Linked DNA regions of Homo sapiens: all the other regions are linked to region 3. Evidence: promoter capture Hi-C in human tissues and cell types (Jung and others, 2019). All regions are on one chromosome and are shown on one strand. The core of a region is centred on a gene start or on the middle of the fragment in contact, and the rest is flanking DNA. Distances in the headings are between cores, read along the strand shown. Region 1 has its middle 48 kb from the start of MRPL32. Region 2 has its middle 31 kb from the start of MRPL32. Region 3 holds the start of HECW1 (HECT, C2 and WW domain containing E3 ubiquitin protein ligase 1). Region 4 overlaps HECW1 (HECT, C2 and WW domain containing E3 ubiquitin protein ligase 1). Region 5 overlaps HECW1 (HECT, C2 and WW domain containing E3 ubiquitin protein ligase 1).

Evidence for each region. Contacts are between HindIII fragments. The study calls those that stand out against the background at their distance.
Region 1: a fragment that was not itself captured here is called in contact with the fragment with the promoter of HECW1 in region 3 in 1 of the 25 tissues and cell types used here (mesendoderm cells).
Region 2: a fragment that was not itself captured here is called in contact with the fragment with the promoter of HECW1 in region 3 in 1 of the 25 tissues and cell types used here (mesenchymal stem cells).
Region 4: a contact is called between a fragment that was not itself captured here and the fragment with the promoter of HECW1 in region 3, in 3 of the 25 tissues and cell types used here (IMR-90 fibroblasts, aorta and dorsolateral prefrontal cortex).
Region 5: a contact is called between a fragment that was not itself captured here and the fragment with the promoter of HECW1 in region 3, in 2 of the 25 tissues and cell types used here (H1 embryonic stem cells and dorsolateral prefrontal cortex).

The regions. Positions count from the first base shown.
Region 1 is chr7:42,978,065-42,981,932 of GRCh38, forward strand. No RefSeq gene overlaps it. Among named protein-coding and RNA genes, the nearest start is that of MRPL32, 48 kb to the left of the region's middle. The HindIII fragment of the contact is 3,571 bases long and covers 738-3,868 here.
Region 2 is chr7:42,960,967-42,964,953 of GRCh38, forward strand. No RefSeq gene overlaps it. Among named protein-coding and RNA genes, the nearest start is that of MRPL32, 31 kb to the left of the region's middle. The HindIII fragment of the contact is 3,536 bases long and covers 1-3,419 here.
Region 3 is chr7:43,110,931-43,114,907 of GRCh38, forward strand. HECW1 (HECT, C2 and WW domain containing E3 ubiquitin protein ligase 1) reads left to right here and starts at 1,717. Exons shown (of 30, transcript NM_015052.5): 1 at 1,717-2,007; 2 at 3,227-3,461. The HindIII fragment of the contact is 15,211 bases long and covers 1-3,977 here.
Region 4 is chr7:43,326,227-43,330,174 of GRCh38, forward strand. All of the region lies in intron 5 of HECW1 (HECT, C2 and WW domain containing E3 ubiquitin protein ligase 1), which reads left to right. Among named protein-coding and RNA genes, the nearest start is that of MIR3943, 180 kb to the left of the region's middle. The HindIII fragment of the contact is 6,763 bases long and covers 1-3,948 here.
Region 5 is chr7:43,300,620-43,304,041 of GRCh38, forward strand. All of the region lies in intron 3 of HECW1 (HECT, C2 and WW domain containing E3 ubiquitin protein ligase 1), which reads left to right. Among named protein-coding and RNA genes, the nearest start is that of MIR3943, 150 kb to the left of the region's middle. The HindIII fragment of the contact is 4,198 bases long and covers 1-3,422 here.

The sequences.
Region 1 (3,868 bases), core at 1,273-3,772, 130 kb before region 3:
TCTCAGGTAGAGCTTCATAGCAGTGCAAGAATGGACCAATACAAATATGTAGCCTTTTGAATCTAGGCTTTTTTCACTCAGCAATATGCATTTAACATTCATCCATGTTATTGAGTGGGTCAATAGTTCTTCCTTTTTATTGCTGAGTAATATTTCACTGTACACATACACTGCAGGATTCCCCAGCTGAAGGATATGGAGAAGAGTAATTGCAGCCACTTTGGTAAATAATCTATCAAGTATACTAATTAACTGACTTAAACAGTTCTGTATTCTTTCCTTGTACAAAAAGTCACACAAATGTAGAGAAGAAAACAAAATGAATCCTAAGATAGTCTTCACTTAGCTGCAGCAGTTATCAAGATTCTCTCCATCTAACCCTTTTTACTTTAGTCTTTCTTGTTGAAATATATTAAAGCAAATTTTAGATATGAGAGAGAAATATGTAGAGATTATTCCATTTGACTCTCCAAAAGTTATGAATGTTTTTCATGTAACTTTAATGTATCAGCATTTTTTTCCTATAAAAGGCCAAATAATAAGTGCATTTGGCTTTGTGAGCTCTGGGTTCTTTGTCAAAATTACTCAACTTCTGCTGTTATGAAAAGAAAGCAGCCTTAGACTACTCATAAACAAACAAGCATGACTGTAGTCTACCAAAACTTTATTTACTAAGACAGGCAGCAGGCCCTAGTTTGACAAATGCAATCTAATCTCCAGTCCATGATGAAATTTTCCAGATTGCTTCAAAAATGTATTTTACTGTTTTTTTTCTCTCCAATCAAACCTTGTTTGGATTCTGTCTTTAAATGATTTTAAAGTTTCTAACATAACTGAAATACCCATATTTTTCAGTGCATATTAATTCTGCTATCACTAGAATTTCTTCCTTGAAAAAGAACTATTTTATAAAATAAACAATATGTATTTATCACTGAGAAATTAGAAAAAAACAAACAATCCCATCAAAAAGTGGGCTAAGGACATGAATAGACAATTATCAAAAGAAGCTATACAAATGGCCAACAAACATAAAAAAATGCTCAACAGCACTAATGATCAGGGAAATGCAAATCAAAACCACAATGTGATACCACCTTACTCCTGCAAGAATGGCCATAATCAAAAAAATAAAAAAAACAGTAGATATTGGCATGGATGTGGTAAACAGGGAACACTTCTACACTGCCGGTGGGAATGTAAACTAGTACAGCCACTATGGACAACAGTATGGAGATTCCTTAAAGAACTAAAAGCAGAACTACCATTTGATCCAGCAATCCCATTACTGGGTATCTACCCAGAGGAAAAGAAGTCATTATTCGGAAAAGATACTTGCACATGCATGTTTATAGAAGCAAAATTCCCAGTTGCAAAATAATGGAACCAACCCAAATGCCAATCAATCAACGAATGGATAAAGAAACTGTGGTATTATGTTATCTACTCAGCCATAAAAAGGAATGAATTAACAGCATTTGCAGTGACCTGGATGAGATTGGAGACTATTATTCTAAGTGAACTCAAAAATGGAAAACCAAACATCCCATGTTCTCACTGATATATGGGAGCTAAGCTATAAAGTAAAGCTAAGCTATAAAGTATAGAATGCACATTGTACATCTAATTTAATTATTATGCAAAGGCATAAGAATGATCCAATGGACTTTGGGGATTTGGGGGGAAGAGTGAGAGGGGGGCGAGGGATAAAAGGCTACAAATATGGTGTAGTGTATACTGTTTGGGTAATGGGTACACCAAAATCTCACAAATCACCACTAAAGAACTTATTTGGTTACTCATGTAAACAAATGCCACCTGTACTCCAAAAACTTATGGAAAAAAAAGTTGTTTGTATAAGAAAACTAAACATTAAAAGAAACTGAGGTACAGAAAAGTTGTCATTTCTTTCAGATTACAGAGCTAGTGTGGGTGGGCTTCAAGACAAGGAAGACAGGCTCCAGAGACCACACTCAGCCACAAGTCTATGCTGCAATCAAGACTAATCTATGAGAAGGATGAAAATTTATTAATTGGTGATTGTTGGGGAGTAGGAACCCCAAGTTAATATGCCCAAAAGAGACCTCTTGGTTTCTTCCTGCCTGTCTCTAATTTCTCTTTCTTCAGGCTTCCCTCTCTCAGCAAACACCAACTTCATTCATCCAGATATGCATCTCCAATTCTTGGAGTTACCCTTGTTCCTACTCCTCTCATCGCTATCTAGTTAGTCAGCAAAGCCTACCGGCTTTGCCTTCACAATACAAACCTAACCTTGTCTCTCTACCCTCCACCACTGCCATCCTGGTCTAAGACACCATTATCTTTTCCCAGATTATTGTAATAACTCATATCTGGTTTCCTGGTTTCTACTGTTACCCTCAATTGTCTATTCTCACTACAGCTGGAGTGACTCTTTTAAAGCAAAAGTCAGATTATGTTCCCTCTGCTCAAAGTCCTCTGATGGCATCCCAACTCTCTCAGAATGAAATCAAGTTGTCATTGGCTCACATGGCCTTACATAAATCTATCCATCTGCTACCTACTCTCCAGCCACTTTCCCGGTCACTCCCTGTGCACCAGATTTCATGTCCTTTCAGTTTCTCGTATATGCTGGCTCTGCTGCATCCTCATGTTGCTTGACACATGTTGCTCCCTGTGCTTGGAAGGCTCTCACAGGTGGCTGCAGAGTTTGCTTCTCTACTTCATGCAAGTCTCTGCTCCAGGTCACCTTCTTAAAGAGGATCTTCCTGACTACTGTGGCCTCCTTTCCCTTTCCTGTCCTCACTAGCCCTTTCCCCAGCCTAGTGCTCATGCCCCTGCATATATTACAAATACACGGTTTATTGGTCTGTTATCCTTCCCAGCCCTTTCTTGTTAGCCACACAAGAGAAAGGATTTTGTCTGTTATTTTAGTGTTCTTCCCTGTGCCTTGACTGGTGTCCAGCACTTAGAAGGCATGCAATGAAAATTGTTTGAATGACTGAATGAATGAATGCAGGAATGTCATCATTCTGTACTGTGAACCATAATGAACATGAAACAAAGTAAGAGAATGAAGACACACAATAGGTCAGCCTACTAGCGGTCCTTTTAATTGCCTGATTGATGTTGGAAAATGAAGCTTTCTGGATGATAAATGAAAGCTACCAAATGCCATTCATCACAATTCTTGTCATAATCGACTCAATAAAGTATAGAATGCACATTGTATATCTAATTTAATGTGTGCAAACCAGACATGTAATGACACAAATGTACAGTTTGTGGGTTGTAGTTAGTGCAGAAAAATGTAGTATTAGCCAAAGATAAGAGAGTTGCTGATGCATTCTCTATACTGGCAGATCAATACAGTATTATAAAGAACGAAGAAATGAAATCAAAGGATTTTTTTCTGACAAAAGAGAGAAAAGAATGAAATGGAAAGGGCACAATTGGCACCATTTAAATCTATGCCTTCATGTTTTACCTTCTAATTGGGACCTGAGGTTATAAATCAAGATAATAAAAGCTGATAAATACATTGCCTATCTTTCCCCACAGGGGAGGTGAAGGAAGATGAAAGAAAGCATCAAAAGAAAACCACTCTGGCAGGGACTTCTCATTCCTTTTCATTTTATTTTCTGGCAAAGACTACAGTGCATCTATTACTTGTCTGAGAGGTTACAAAAGAGGAAGAAGCCTGGGGTTGTATAATAATGTTGGAAGCCTAGGAGAGGCCACAAAGAGTATCTTGTAGAGTGGGCGGGGTTCAGAAGGTTCTAAGCCATGCTGTGAATCTGGCACACAGGCCTTTGTGCTCAAAACACAACATCTGGGGTGCATTCCCAGCTCTTACAAGGAGCAATGAATGCTGCTAATGACATTGCAT
Region 2 (3,987 bases), core at 402-2,901, 150 kb before region 3:
TAAGCAGCTGGTGCTCACAGGCAGCCCCCTGGCCCATTTGGTAGCATGAAGCCAGACTGACAGACTAGGATCACCCAGAATGCACAGCTTCCCTGTACAGGACACCAAAAATTGTAACTGAATGCAGATTTGGCCGTTTGTCACTTGCAGAATCAAGTAACAAGGACAAGGTGTGATAGAAAGAAAGTGAAGTGACTTTATGTTCCAATATTGACAGTGGGAAGTAGTTCAGGCTCCTGCCTTGATGAAACCACTTTAAAATTCTCAGGCAAAACACTAGAGCTTGAGAAGGGGAAGTTTGGTATGGAGGAAATGCGGGAGTTGGGGGTGGCAAGGTGGTGTGGGTCTATATGACTTGTTCTGATGACTTATCTTGAGTTATTGCTCCAACTTGTGAATGAGCTGGTGCCATCTCGGGCTTGACTGGGTTGTAAATTAGCTGCAGGCTTGAAGTAATCTCCTGGTGGGGGATAATTCCATAGGCACCTGGATTGTCTCAAGATTCAATCTCTGGAACTTCTAAGCAAGCATAATTAGATAAGCTAGCAATGCAAGGGAGTGCCTTGTGGAAAGAAGGAGAGTAAAGGATATTATTTTATTACTAAAAAGTTAATAGAAAAGGACTGAAGAAGGAAGAGGAAAAAAACCTTAAAAATAGGGTACTCAGTTATAAGAAAACTCAACTTCAGTATCATATAACACAAATTTAAGATGGGTTTATCTGGCTTATTCCCTCCCGTCAGCTCAGCTACGTTGTCTATGTTGGGACCAGAGAAATTACATTAAAGATAACTGGCCTAATTGCACCAGAAATATGGGATGGATACCCAAAGAACAGTGTTTCAACACCATTACATTACAAAATACTGATTGGCCTGCCACTGAATAGATACAACAACTGAGTATTTCTTGGTTAGCTTCAAATGGAAAGTTTTGGTCATGTGGCACTAATCTATGGACATGGCTACTCCCAGGATGGCTAGGACAATGTTCCTTGGGTTATGCTTGGGCACAAGGTCAAATAGTTCATTCCCTATCAAAACCTGCAAATTTTCCTCATTTATAATCCTGCTGGGCTTTTTCTGTGTTCCATTGGTATGATCATTTAGCTTCCATCTTCATCCCACAACTGGGTATTTGAGAATGTTATTTGGCATGTAGAGGCCCCGATCAATTATACACTACAGGCTCTAAATGATAGCCACATCAGTACTTTGTTATTAAACAATGAAGTTGCTATTACAAGAAAGGCTGTATGGCACAACAAGTTTTAGACACACCCACTGCAGCCCAAGGTACCATCATAAAAACTGAATGTTGTGTCTCTATACTAGATGAGTCTAATAACATCAATAAATGAATGGCTGATATGAAAACCTCAATAACCAACTTTTCAGATCCCAAATCTTCTCTAAGTGACTAGCTAAGTAGATGGTTTGGATCTTGGGTAACTTAACAGCAAAAGCTGTTACTTATTCTAGGAATTGTAATTGCATATTGTGTTTTGTTCTGGTTTTGTCTACACTGTTGTTACAGCATTTGTTTAAAATGGAGTCAACTTGTGACTGAAAAGACTAAAATAATGGTCCCCCAAATAGTTGCATAAATTGAAGATATAGCTATTTAGCCTAACACACAAAATCACTTTCTTTATGCTGACTTAAATTCAGCCTATACTACATCAGCTTACAGCTGGTTTAATCATCCTTTGCTAGGGGACATGACATCCTAGGAGTGTGCCTTCCTAGTGACATGGGATCAAAATTTCTCAACATAAAAGGAGTCCAACCATTAAATTCATCTATGATGGTTTCTTCAAAAAGTTCTTGAAGAACTTTCTTCCAAAAAGAAGAAAAATGTAAAAATAAGTAATCCAAATTGAAGGTATTGGAACTCTAAAATTATTTTGAACCTTAAAGGAATGTGATTATGGGCCTGCATCACATAACAGACAGCTGTAACCTTTGTTTCTCTGATTATAGATTAAGCCTCCTTCCTTACCTGTATTGTTTTGTGTTAATAAAATGACATGAATGACAGAAGGGCACCAAGGAAGACCCCTTCCTTCTCCTCTGTTGATCTTCATTGTAGATTAACCTCCCTCTCACCTTTCTCACACAAAGACTTCATGACTACCACATTGTCTTAAGATGGAATGTTAAACATACTCTTTTAAATTGGAAAGGAAATGAAAATCAGCTATGAATAAAACAAGCCATACAGAAAAGAAAACAAACTCTAACTAATTAATTTGTTATAACTCTTAAACCAGTATATAGGAAATATAATCCTGTTAAATTTCTTTGTCTTCTTCCTATATAAGCAAAAACTTAACTTTTAACTTCAGAGCACTGATCCTATTTCTCTGAAATCTGTGTGTCCCAGAATGGCCATTCCCAGCTTTCTTCTTGATTAAACTCTTTAAAACTAGATTTTGACCCTTCTTATTATCTCATATTGACACAATCCCTCTTTATGACAGAACAACACAGAAAGACAAAGACAAAAGACAAGACTATTTCTGGGAGGAAAAAGACAATATGAATTTTCATACCAAAAAGTACACCAGAGTTGCTACACCTAAGACTAGGCTCACAAATCCTTTTCCTCCATTAATCAAGACTTTCAACTAGGTACGGTGGCTCACTCCTATAATCCCAGCATTTTGGGAAGCTCAGGTGGGTGTATCACCTGAGGTCAGGAGTTTGAGACCAGCCTGGCCAACATGGCAAAATCGCATCTCTACTAAAACCACAAAAATTAGCACCACCACTAGGTAGTGGTGGTGCATGGCTGTAATCCCAGCTACTCGGGAGGCTGAGGCACAAGAATTGCTTAAACCTGGGAGGCAGAGGTTGCAGTGAGCCAAGATCGTACCACTGCACTCCAGCCTTGGCAAGAGAGTGAGACTCTGTCTCAAAAAAAAAAAAAAAAAAAAAAAAGACTTTGGAGAGGGAAAGGGACAGTGACTTTTACTGTCTACTGGACCAGATTGCACAAAGAGAGGCTTGGAGCCTGGCTGGTAAGAATTTCTTATCCTACGGGTTTGTTGAGTCCTGGGCTCCCTTGACTGTGGCTTCCAGAAGAGCAGAGCAGTTTTGCTATCCTGCTCACAGTGCAAAACTGTAGGGGCCAAGGGAAACTTCCCCTGCATTCTGTAAAAGTTCACTGAAAATCAACTGACAGAAGGCAGATTAATAGGAGAAAAAGCATACAAATTTATTAACATGTGGGTGAGGGAATCAAACAGTGATTACCCCAATCTCCTAATGGGGTACAGAAGCTTCTATACCCTTTTTCATAGAGGAGGAAGGATATAGGGAATGTAGCCAGTTCTTTAAAGGGTGGTAAACGATTATTAGGGAAAATGAATGGACCAGGGATACAGAAATTAACTTGTAAATGATGATTATCTTTAGAATGTGAGGTGGAGAGGCAGGCATTATCTTGTGGAAAAGTTTATCCAGGTGTGGTTACATTCTTCAACCTTCTTTTCTGCTGTAGATAATGAGGTAACAGGGAGGGAACAGGCAATTGTATTTCTTTTGGCAAGAAGCTTTCTTGGTTAGATAAGGAAATTTCAGAGACAGTCCCTCTCTCTGCTGTCGAAAGGAAGGAGAAGAGGGTTAGAGGGACCTTGATTCTGAGGCTTATTTCTGAGTCCTTTCAATTTTCTTTCTTTTTCCTTTTTATTAAGATACAGGTCTCACTATGTTGCCCAGGCTGGTCTCAAACTCCTGGGCTCTAGCAATCCTCCCGCCTCGGCCTCCCAAAGTGCCAGGACTATAGGCATGAACCACTGCACTGGGCCTCAATTTTCAAAAGCATGCAGTATGCCCAAGTGCCATATTTGGGAGAATCATTTTCTATATCCCAAACGCTTTCTATTTCTGCGTGCCTGTTTATGTATCTGTCAGGATACTGTGTTAAGCTATGGCAACAAACTAACACAAGGTCTCAGCGACTTTATACAACAAAGGTCTATGT
Region 3 (3,977 bases), core at 467-2,966:
TTTTAATATCTTTTGTCTTCAGTATAAAAAAAGCAACTCCTCAGGGGAGGATAAAGCACACCACAAGGATTGCTACATCAATAACCTCTATGAGAGATGTGGACTTGTCAAGTCATCTCCATGATGGATAGAACAGAGAGCAAACATCTCTGAGCCAAGTTGATGCTGATTCACTGAAAATAATGAGGTGAACATCCTGGCAATTAGTTGAGGTAAAAAAATTATCCTTTATTGTGGTTTGGTGACATTGTGCTAATTTAGAAACCATGGATGCTGGTTTATGTGAAAGTTTTTGTTTTCTTTCAAGTCTCTGGTTGGAAACATCACATGGTTGGTTGCTGTTGCTGTTTACTGCCACAGCCTGTTCAAGTCTATTCTCGGAGAGTTTTCTTCATATAGGAGTTGGTACTAATCCAAGTGTAAAATCCGGAGAAATGTGTGCACAGCTTTCTGTGTGGATTCTTAGCTAAGGTTTGAAAATGGTCTGCTTTGAGCTCATCTGACCAGAAGATCTGACTGCTGTCAGGCAAAGAAAAGGGTCTGTCAGGAAAGGACTGGGCACCCCAAGTGGAATACGGAAAGAGAAGGGCTGTGCCTCCTTGCAGAAAAGAGCACAGCTGGTGAAGCTGCCTTCACATCGTCCAAAGTTTCCAGTTCTGGAAAGTTCCAGTTGTAAGAGTGAAATCAATGCCAAGAGGCAGGTCAGTGGAATGAGAGGCACTGAGAAACTAGCCACTGTGGGTGGAAGGGGAAGGAGATTTGGTTTTGACAAGTCCGTACTCAGGTCTTCAGTAAGGAGTTCTGAAGTCAGGGTGAAGCCTTTGTTTATTCTAGAGGAGGCGGAGTTTGGGGTCTGGGAAAGAAGATAACTTCTCAGAAAGTGAAAAAAAGCTCATGTAGAGGATGCTGGGCAAAATAATGGGAAGGAATAAATCAGCATTGTAGAGAATGTGGTTGGATCATAAAATCCCAGGCTATAGAGATTATGTGCTCAAAGCCTCTGCATTTTATGTGAACACACACAAACCAAATGTCGACCAGATGCACAAAAATGTGCATACATGGAGCAGCCAACCACCAATAGTAACCAGCATTTCACTTCTCTTTGCATCTCAGTTGGCTGTACCTGGAAGGGTCTAGACTTTGCCTCCTTCTCGTTCTAGCATTCTGACACTGTGTGCAGTGTAATAGAAAACGCGGTTTGGGAGCTAGGTTTGCCCAACAATAGATATTCTGGGGTGATTTTCATCCTTTGCATTTGTCATTACGATGTTTTGTGTGCTTGTGCAAATACAGGACGGTTCCTGAAATGTGTCTCTGAGCGTTCTTAACTGTGTGTAAGGTAAGCGAGGAAAGTGTCTAAGACAGAGGCCAAGAACACCTGTCACAGGGTACCCGCCTAGAGTGTCTGTACCGCATCCTTTCTGCTACACTGTTTGCACACACACAAAAGGGCCGAGGAGCCAGGGTTGGTGTTGGATATGCCCAGTACGCGTGCTGGGTGTTGGAAGGATGGGGCCGGCGGTAACAAGAATCGATATATATTTACCGCGGGGGCGGGGGTGGGGGTGCGCGGAGGCTGCAGGGCGGGGCAGCGCTAATGAGAGCAAGCCCGGCTTGTGGTTGGTTCTGGAGTCTGGTACCCACAGAGGAGCAGGCAGGGAGGGAGGGGATGCAAGCGGGAGGATAAAGCGATGAAGTGTGCTGCGTTACCGCGCATCAGGCGCTGTTGTTGGAGCCGGAACACCGTGCGACTCTGACCGAACCGGCCCCCTCCTCGCGCACACACTCGCCGAGCCGCGCGCGCCCCTCCGCCGTGACAGTGGCCGTGGCCTCCGCTCTCTCGGGGCACCCGGCAGCCAGAGCGCAGCGAGAGCGGGCGGTCGCCAGGGTCCCCTCCCCAGCCAGTCCCAGGCGCCCGGTGCACTATGCGGGGCACGTGCGCCCCCCAGCTCTAATCTGCGCGCTGACAGGAGCATGATCTGTGCCCAGGCCAGGGCTGCCAAGGTAAGCGGGCGTAGCGCGGGGACACTGTCTGCCGCCCCTTCCCCCCCGCCCTTCTCTGGGCGGCTTCCCCGCCGCACGCGAGGCCCCGGCAGCGCCCTCCCTTCTCGGGGCCGAGATCCACCCTCCTCCCCACCCTCTCGCTTCTCCCGCGAGGTTCAATTGTCAGCCTGGGTCGCGCCGCCGCCCGGTCCGGGCCGGCATCCCCGGGTGGCGACCCCGGCTTGGGTACTGCAGGCGCACCCGGCCCTCCTGCGGGGTACGGAGAGAAACAAAGAAGCCCCCAAGCGGGTTCGCAGCGCCTCCCCCGCCCCTCAGCGCCCTCCCAGTGGCGAGGAGGTGTCAGGGGAGGGGGCGGAGAGACCTACGTAATCCCCCTTCCCAGCCCACACCCACCCCTTGTGAACCAAAGCTCTGGATTTGCGCTTCGCCTTGGGCTCGCTTTTGAACAATTGTGTCCCATGCAATGCCCGTGGTTAGCCCAGAGAGCGCCCAGAGCCTCCGCACGGGCTCGCCGGTGCTCGCTCGAGGGGCGCGTGGCCAGGTCCGGCCCTTGCTCCCATGGACGGGTGCAGGAGGGGAGGAGGCGCTGTGTGGGTGCTCCCCCAGCGCCTCCCTGTTACCGGCCGGCTGCGCCGCTCAGCCGGGCCTGCCACCTGAGTTTTAGCGGGAGCAGTCATGTCGCCTACCGTATTGCGACTTGCAGACAGGCAGGGAGGGAGCTGCCGGGGCGGGGAGGGGGGGGGAATGCGTCCGGTCCATTTTTGGCTGGAGGTGCGCTTCCTGCTACCCCCACGTTCCCGGGCGGTGACAATGCAGCAAAATCCGAGGGCTCAAACAATGTGGCCCCTCCATCCCCGGCTCCAGGGCATTCTGATTGCTCTGCCGCTTTGACGTCCCGGCCACTTGGCTGATTTTCAGAGCCATGATGCGCGGTGTCTCTGTCTTGCACACAGAGGCTGGGCACCATAACTTCTTCCCTGCCGAATTTCAGCGCGTAGGGGGAGCTGGCAGGGACACAGGCTGCAGAGATGCCCGGCTTCCTGTGGTTCCGGGCACAGCGCGCCTCAGTCTGCATTGGGCTGACACCAGAGAGCATGTGGGGATTTTCCTAGTTGCCGAAGAAGATATTATTTGACGTTGCTGTAGTTTTGTGCTTACTTCTCTTGGAATCTGCAGTGGTGCAATTCTCCCCTTGTTTTCCCCCCTTCTCTTTGAAAAGATATCAATGCTATGTTCAGCAGAAACGGATACAGCAAGAGCAGCATAGTTCAAAAATTGAGGGAGGCATCTTCTCTCTTTTCCTGGGATTTAAACGCGATTTAGGAGGGCAGATGCCCTACCCGAAAAGGCCAACCGTTAAAGACCCCGGCAGTGTTGTGGTCCAAGGCGTCTCAAAGCAGGTGGCCAGATCTGCGTTTCTCATCAGCAGACTCACTCCGGCTGTGGCTATTACGGTAATTCATTCTAGATTGGGGATTCATTTAAAAATGTGTGTTTTCCACTAAGAAGGGATTAGAGTCCACATGCCCACCCTGGTATGAATGTGTGTGCCTGTTTGGTAGAGAGATAGATTGTGGTAGAATTCCCTGTTGGTAGAATTCCCTGTTGCCTGTTCCCTCCGCTTGCTGCTTCCTCTGGAATGTGGCATTGGAAAAACAAAGCACTATTTTAATTCCTAGACCTCCAGGCAAATTGGCCGTTCTAGTGTTTTATTTAATAATCCACGTTCTGACTAATTCCACACTATAATCCCAGTCTAGTGCAGTTGGCTGCTTTGTGGAATGACAGTTCTCTTTTTTTTTGGAGTAGTTTTTTCATGAAGGCAAATTGCCTAAGTTTGTTTAGATTGTGACATTATTGACTTGATAGGGAGGTCACATCCGGAGCTGGAACAGCCCATCAATGTATCAATACAGAGGGACTGCAGCTCTGTTATTTGTGTATATAGCATCATTTGACTTGATTCCTTT
Region 4 (3,948 bases), core at 360-2,859, 220 kb after region 3:
CTCCTGATGATACATAACAGAAAATCTAAGCAGCCAACCTTACTGACAGTTTGTAATGACTCCCCCCTTGACCATGGTGAGGTGAACCTCACACAGGTAGGGGCTGTCGGGATCTGCCTCCTCACTCTGGGCTTCAGCCAGTGGCTTCTAAGCCAGAGGCAGCATGATGGCCACGGTGACTTGGGGCTCAACCCCACGCCCAGGGAGGCCCTCTGGACTCTGAGATTCTGTTTCTTCATCTATAAAATGAAAGTGATATATGTCCTCCACAAGGCGGCCCCATGAAGATGACCTGAAAAAACTCAGGAGAAGTGCCCAGCCATGTGTCAGGGACAGTAAGAGCTCAGTCAACACCAGACCCCCTGCCATAATTAGAGGGCTGTGAATTAGGAATTACAGGTGTCACTCTGAGAGGAAACAGGGCAGGATCGTACATCCACCTTTTATTTCTGCTCTGGAAATGAACATATTGGTGTCTTGGTGACAATTGAGACATGAATGGCTTTATGCTGAGAGTTTTCTGTGGGGAAACCCTCTGCTCTGCAGCCAAAGCTGGAGACCAAAGGGCACTGGAGGAAAAGCAGGGCTCCAGGGGAGCCGGTGGCCTTCTCTCCCTTGACATTCAGAGCAATGTTTCCCTGCGGCGAAGCAGCCAGAGCCAGAACAAGCTCGCTGGGACCAGAGGCACCAGCACCAAGACTAGACACAGGGGCTTCATCAGGCCACAGTCCAGATGGTTAAGGTGACATGTTGTTAGAGCCTTTTATTTCAACTTGGGCATGTTTTCACCAGGACTGCTCTGCCTTTAGAGCCAGTGTGGCTAAGGACTGCACCGCGGGCTGCCATTTTCAATCACTGTTGTGTTATTTCCAAGGAGATGTCTCAATCTGTGCTACAATAAATACTTGGGCCATAGGCGCTAAGCCCTTAAGAAGGTTAAGTCTACATGAGGAGACTGAACCCCACCTGTGCAACGTAAAGGTGTGATCATTGCACTGCTTCACAGGTTTTCTGTTAGGAAAAAGTATGACTCCATATACATATCTGCAAGATAATAGGCGTATTTATATTATTGTGCCATCTGATTTTTTTATAGAGCTCCGTGGAAACCAAGACTCCCCCCACCGCTGCCCACCCACTTTAGCACTACGCTAAATTGAAATCATGGTTAAAATTGCACTGTGTAACGGTCGTGAAGTAATTCGTGTTGCTTATATTCTTACTTGTGTTTCTTAAATTTTAGGAAAATAATATAGAGTTCACAGTGATACTCCTGAAATTCTTTTTATCCTTTCACCACACAATTAATTCCCCTCCCTGCTGTCCCTACCACCTAAACTTCTCCATAAACCTACCTCTGGTTATACCTCGTACTCATGTTGGTCTTCCCTTCGTTATTTCCTTCCAGTTTTGCTTTAAAATCCCAAAAGAATTAATCTTGCTAGAGAGGCATCCCCTGGGTAGAGGAAGGAGCCCAAGCTACCAAGTCCATAGGCACTCTCTAGCAGCCCCAAGTGAAAGGGTTGGAAATATTCATACAGTGATAATTTTGTCCCTTTGAGGTTATCATGCATCATGTGATATCATATATTAGATATTATGCATCCTGTGTGCTAATGGGATGTAGAAAGAACATAATAGTGATTAAAGAGCAAGATTAAAGGCACGGCAGGGTGGAGCTGAGAAGTACAGGAAAGATAAGTGCTTAGACTTTATGTAGTCTATGAACCATTTATATTATTATTATTATTATTATTATTATTATCATTATTATTTTAGTTTTAGGATGACATGATAAAACGGATTTGGGGCCAGGCATAGTGGCTCACACCTATAATCGTAGCATTTTGGGAGGAAGTGGCGGAAGGATCACTAGAGCCCAGGAGCTCAAGACCAGCCTGGGCAACAAAGTGAGACCTCCATCTCTACAAAAAATAAAAATTTAAAAATGTTAGCTCTGTTTGGTGGCATGCACCAGTAGACCCAGCTACTTGGGAAGCTGAGATGGGAGAATCACTTGAGCTGGGGAGGTCTGCAGTCTAGCCTGAGCTATGGAGCAAGACCTTGTCTCAAATTAAAAACAAAAAACAAAAAACAAAAAAAACAAGGGTTTGTGACTATTCGTGCAAGGCAACTTCAGGGAAACATATCCACCTTCAGCAATCCCAGTCAAGGCCTGCAACATGGGACACAGAAGAAGCAGTGAACTAGAGGGGCTGCGGTTGCTGCTGGTCCCTGTCTGAACTGCATGGGGCTGCCAGAGGCCAATCTGACTGAACACGGCCAATGAGACAATGGCGTGTGGCAGTGGAGGGCCCAGCCCACGTGGGAAGACAAGACGCAGGCGTGCAGTCACTTCTCAGCACATCAAGGATTCCATTGCATCTGGGGGACATCAAAATTGACCTGCAGTGCATGGAGGTCTCAGTCCCTCAGATTAAATAACAAAGCATGACTGAGCGTTATTACAGAAAACAGCCAGAAAGATATAACCGGAACATTCCATTCAGATTCGCAGCAATACAAAACGATGGTGCCGGCTTCCAGTCAGATACATGTCAGATCTTCCCAATGAGAAGAAAACACTCAATCGACATAAATAAAGGGTCAAGGCCCTATTAACCCAAAGTCACACTTTTCTGGATTAACCTTAAGTTGCCAAGTCGGTGTGAGAACATAACAGATACAGCTGTCTCTCTTAGCCCTATTGTGCTGGAGGCCTGCTGGGGATCGTGCTGGTCTCCAGGGGCTCAGATCTAGACATGCAGGCTCCGTCCCTGCATGCCAAGGTTCTGGCATTACACTGGGGAGACAAGCATGTACTTCTTTTTGTGCTTTGTGTGAAATAGTAAGAGGAGGAGCCCTAGCCTGACCTTGGGGCAAAGACCTAATCACCTCCAAGTTACAGGAACTCGGCCAGTTGGGAAGGAAGGTCTGGGCTCAGGGCCAAGTGGCATACAGGGGTGGGAAGGGGTGAGGCTGGGGTAGGTGAGACAGAATTGGAAAAGAAACATTCCAGGGAAGGAGCCCAGGGTCAGAGGTTCTAGGCAGTTTAGACATATGCCTGCAGAGCACACAGAGCTATGCAAATGCTTTAAGTAGAAAAAGCATTCCGATTAGGCTTGCATTCTAGAAACTGCATTCTGGCAGAAGTGTGGCGAGAAGACTGTAAGGTGCTGATATTAGAGGCTTGAGACCACCAAGAAACTATGGCATAAAAACAGGTGAGAAACAAAGAACACCTGGAATGAGAAAAATGGAAGGGGCTGATTCAGAAAGAGGCTTAGGAGGTAAGATCAACATGGCTTGGTGAGGAACTGGATGTGTGCCTGGGGAGAGGAAAGGGGCAGAAGGAGAATCAGCTGCCTCTACGGCACATCATCCAAGACTGAGGGGTCAGAAAGGGGGCGAGTTTGGGGATTGAAGACACCAAGTTCAGGCTGAAGTGTCTGTGGGCTGGAAAGATGCAGCACACAGTTGCCCGGACACGGCGTGCTAAGGAGAAGAACCCGGCTTTGAAACAGAGATGGGAAAGGAACAAGCAACTGCTGTGTGAAGTGAGGGTGTGAAGGACTTTGTGTAGGGGGAGTGTAAAGTAGTGTTTCTCAAAGTGTAGCCTGCTGAAAATTGCAAGGCAGTCGTTTACCCAGGGTGGTTATTAGAAATGCAGATTCCATAGGCAAGAGCCTTTCTTTTTAATAAGCATGCCATGTTATTCTGATATGCCTGTAAATGTGAAGATGACTGATACAGACTGTGAGAAGAGGAGAGTTGAGGACGGAATTCCATCGAGGAGCAAGAGGAAGAAGAAGAGAAAGAGAGATCATGGAGTTAGGCAGGTTAAGGGTGGCCATAAATTCCCTGATGCTCCTCCTATTGAGAGGCGGGGTCCATGTCGCCTCCCCTTGAGCCTGGGTGGGTGCTGTGACCTGGGCTGGTTTCCAAACT
Region 5 (3,422 bases), core at 400-2,899, 190 kb after region 3:
AATGCTCTGAGACATCAACACTGAATTTATATCAGATATGGCCGTGTTCATCCGGGGCACTTTGATCACAAAAGGAAAGTGCTGCTGCTGCTGGTTCAACCCCACTGTGTACTGATGATGGGCATTATGGTTCATAATCCCAATGACTGGCACACTTATCAGAGCTGCAGTCCAACATGGGGCCTTCTTCTGGCTTGATGGGTGATCTGGAAAAGCAGGTACGATGACCTCCCACACTGATGTGAGAGCTGCACACTGTCCCTGCACCCGCCCAGGAGCCGCCCCTGCTACTTTGTCAGTAACTTCTGCCACGGTGCCACTTGTTTAGACTTGAGGGACCACTTGATTGGTAAAGCTTCTCCCTGCATGTAGACCTTGGCATTCAGGAGAGCTATACTTGGGCTCCCCAAGACACAGCAGCTCTGTCCACCTTGCTCTCCCCCTCATTGCTGCAGTGTGAAGTTTCTAAGGTGAACAAAACCTCCGTGGCCCCCCACTCTCCAATGGAGAAGGTCTTATTTCTTGGTGTGCCATGGGAGACCCCTTTCACACACTTCCAGCTGCCCCCAACACTGTCTGGCAGACAGCTAAGAGGAGCTCTGCTGAATCTGGAAGCTCAGCATGCTTCTAGTAAAGATACGCTTTTCCACGAGAAGTTCCTTCTGCTTAGATTGGATTTCCCTCAGCTCTTGCCCCTTCCTTCCAGGTCCAGCTTCCATGTCCTCCCATCTGGGAAGGTGGTCCCAGCATCTCTCTCCCTTCTAGGGGGGACCATGCCCACCACCCCATTATTGCCCTCACCATTGTGTCATAGTTGACTGCTTAAATGTCTGCCTCCTGCACCAAACTCTCCGAGGCTATGAGCACTGTTTAAGTCCTCTCTGTATCCATACTCAGCATTTAGCACAAGGCCTGGTACACACTAAAGACTCCATCCACATTTCCTGATTGACTGGGCTAAAGGAAGGAAGAAGAAGCCAGATGCAGTGGCTCACGCCTGTAATTCCAGCTCTTTGGGAGGTCAAGGTGGATCACTTGAGGTCAGGAGTTCAAGACCAGCCTGGCCAACATGGTGAAACCCCTTCTCTACTAAAAATACAAAACAATTAGCCAGGTACGGTGGCACGCACCTGTAATCCCAGCTACTCGGGAGGCTGAAGCAGGAGAATCTCTTGAACCCGGGAGGCAGAGGTTACAGTGAGCTGGGATCGCACCATTTCCTTCCAGCCTAGGCAACAAGAGTGGAAACTCTGTCAAAAAAAAAAAAAAAAGAAGCAGGAGAATAAAACCAAAGACAGGATTTACTTAAAAATAAACCCAAAGATGCTGGGTCAAACCACCCAGGGGATATAAGAATTTAAAAGAGAGCATCTTTACAGCACCTTGATCCTCCATGACAAATGATAACATGCTTTTGAGTATTAATTTCAATGAGGATACAAACTCAGCACTGCATCTGAAACCCTCCTAAGTGTATTTCTTAGAACTGTAATCCCTGTCTGGCCCCATCACCTAATAGCAGGCAAATGAGGACACGACCATGAATGGAGGAGGGAAACACACTGGCTTACAACAGCCTGAGGCTCCTCAGGCTTCTCAACAAGCCTGAGGCTCCCTCCCAAGCCAGGCAGCTCAGGCCATGGATGAGGCAGCTAACTGGCCGCAGGGAGTCTCAAGGTCCACTTGGGGCCCTGCTGCTCCCCTGCTGCGTGGTCAGGGCAGGCAGCTGCCCTTCTCAGGCTTCAGCTTCCCGGTGAATAAGAGGAGGGGCTGGCCCAGAACCCTCCCATGACTGTCACTGTGGGTTCCTGTGTGATTCACAGTATTGTGGGTTGGCTTTTGGAGACTGGACTGTAGCCAAGCAGGTGGTGGTGCCCTGGTTACGGGAAGAGGCACAGTGACCCCACTCAGCACAGCACAAGCCCTGCTGGGCTCAGGATGGAGTGAGGCTGAGGTCATCATGGGGGCTCCTCACAAATGCCCGGTACGGGGCCGCCCCGGGAGGATGATGTGGCTGGCTCACAGCAGCTCCACCTCCCTTTCTCTCCTGTATGGTCCGCAGGGCTCCTGGAGCTGGGCGCCTTGGGCCCCTGGAGCCGCACTGTGGTTCTGGGAGGTGAACACATATCCTTTTCCTCTGCAGGTATCAGTAGGTAAAGAGGAAACTTTTCCACTTTCAATCAGGCTAGTGCCTTCCTGAGGAAGAAACAGTATTTCCTAACATTGAGAAGGGAAAAATGGGTCTCTTTCTCACATCTGTAAGTTCCCATTCATTCTGTCTCTGTGTCTTACACACACACCACACACACCCACACACGTGCACACACACATGCGCGCACACACACACACAGGAATACCAGTTCTCACCTTTCCTTTCTGTGTAAACCAGAGGAGGTGCTAAATATTATGAACAGGAATTTGCCCCAGCTAACCTGACGAGGCCCTCCTGGCTGCCACCTTCCTCCCTCTCCCACACCCACAGCCCCCTGCCCATTCCTCTGCCCATACAAACCACCCAGATTTCAGCAACTTCGCTGCTGAACGCCTCCAAACATAAACCTCCCAAATAACCCAGAGCTGCACCAAGCAGTCCTAGACTTGAGCAAAGCAGTGAATGGTCCAATCATGCCCCTCCTGGAGCCTGGCCTCCAGCTGGTTTCTCTTACGTGTGAGTGAGAATGGTGTGCGAGCGACAAGGAGCAAAGACCACCCCACCCCCCGCCCCCCAACACCTGCCATCAAAGGGCTGCAGAGTCAAAAGTGGGAGGGGATGTTCAACCTTACACTTATTGGTGGATTTTTTTTTATGAGCGATAAGGCATTATGTGTTCCTAAAATAATGTGTCTGACTGGCATTTTAACAAGTTCCTTGTATTTTAAATCATGACTTCCTGTGTGGATATTATCTGGCTTGGCTTGATTTGCTTATTAAAATTTTCTCCCCCTAATGTTCCCTTTCAGCCAGCAATGAGTGGGATTTTATTTCTTTTTCAAAGAAAAGAAGCCCACACAATTTAGTTTATGTAATTCTGTGATATTCTTCCACACAATGGCCAGCACAAAAGAAAGCTTTTTTAGCACATGGCTTTGAGGCTGAAAGCACAAATTGAGGCACAGGTTTCAGGAACAGGTGTCTGGGAGCTGAAGAGTTAGACAGAGATGGTGGTTTAGCAGCCACCTCCCACTCTCCTCCCTTACACCTGAGAGCCCCTACACCCGCCCCTGTCCCACAACATCCCTCATACACAGCAGTTCCCAAGCAGAGGTACAAATGGGTAAGCAGGACTCAAATCTCAGGATGTGAGAGGGAGAGGAGGACCCAGGGGCAGTATTTAATCTCATCCCAACACTTTCTTCTTATTTGACAGGTGATGAAGGCAATTCCCAGAGAGGTGGAGCCCTTCTTTTTAGCCTAACGAATT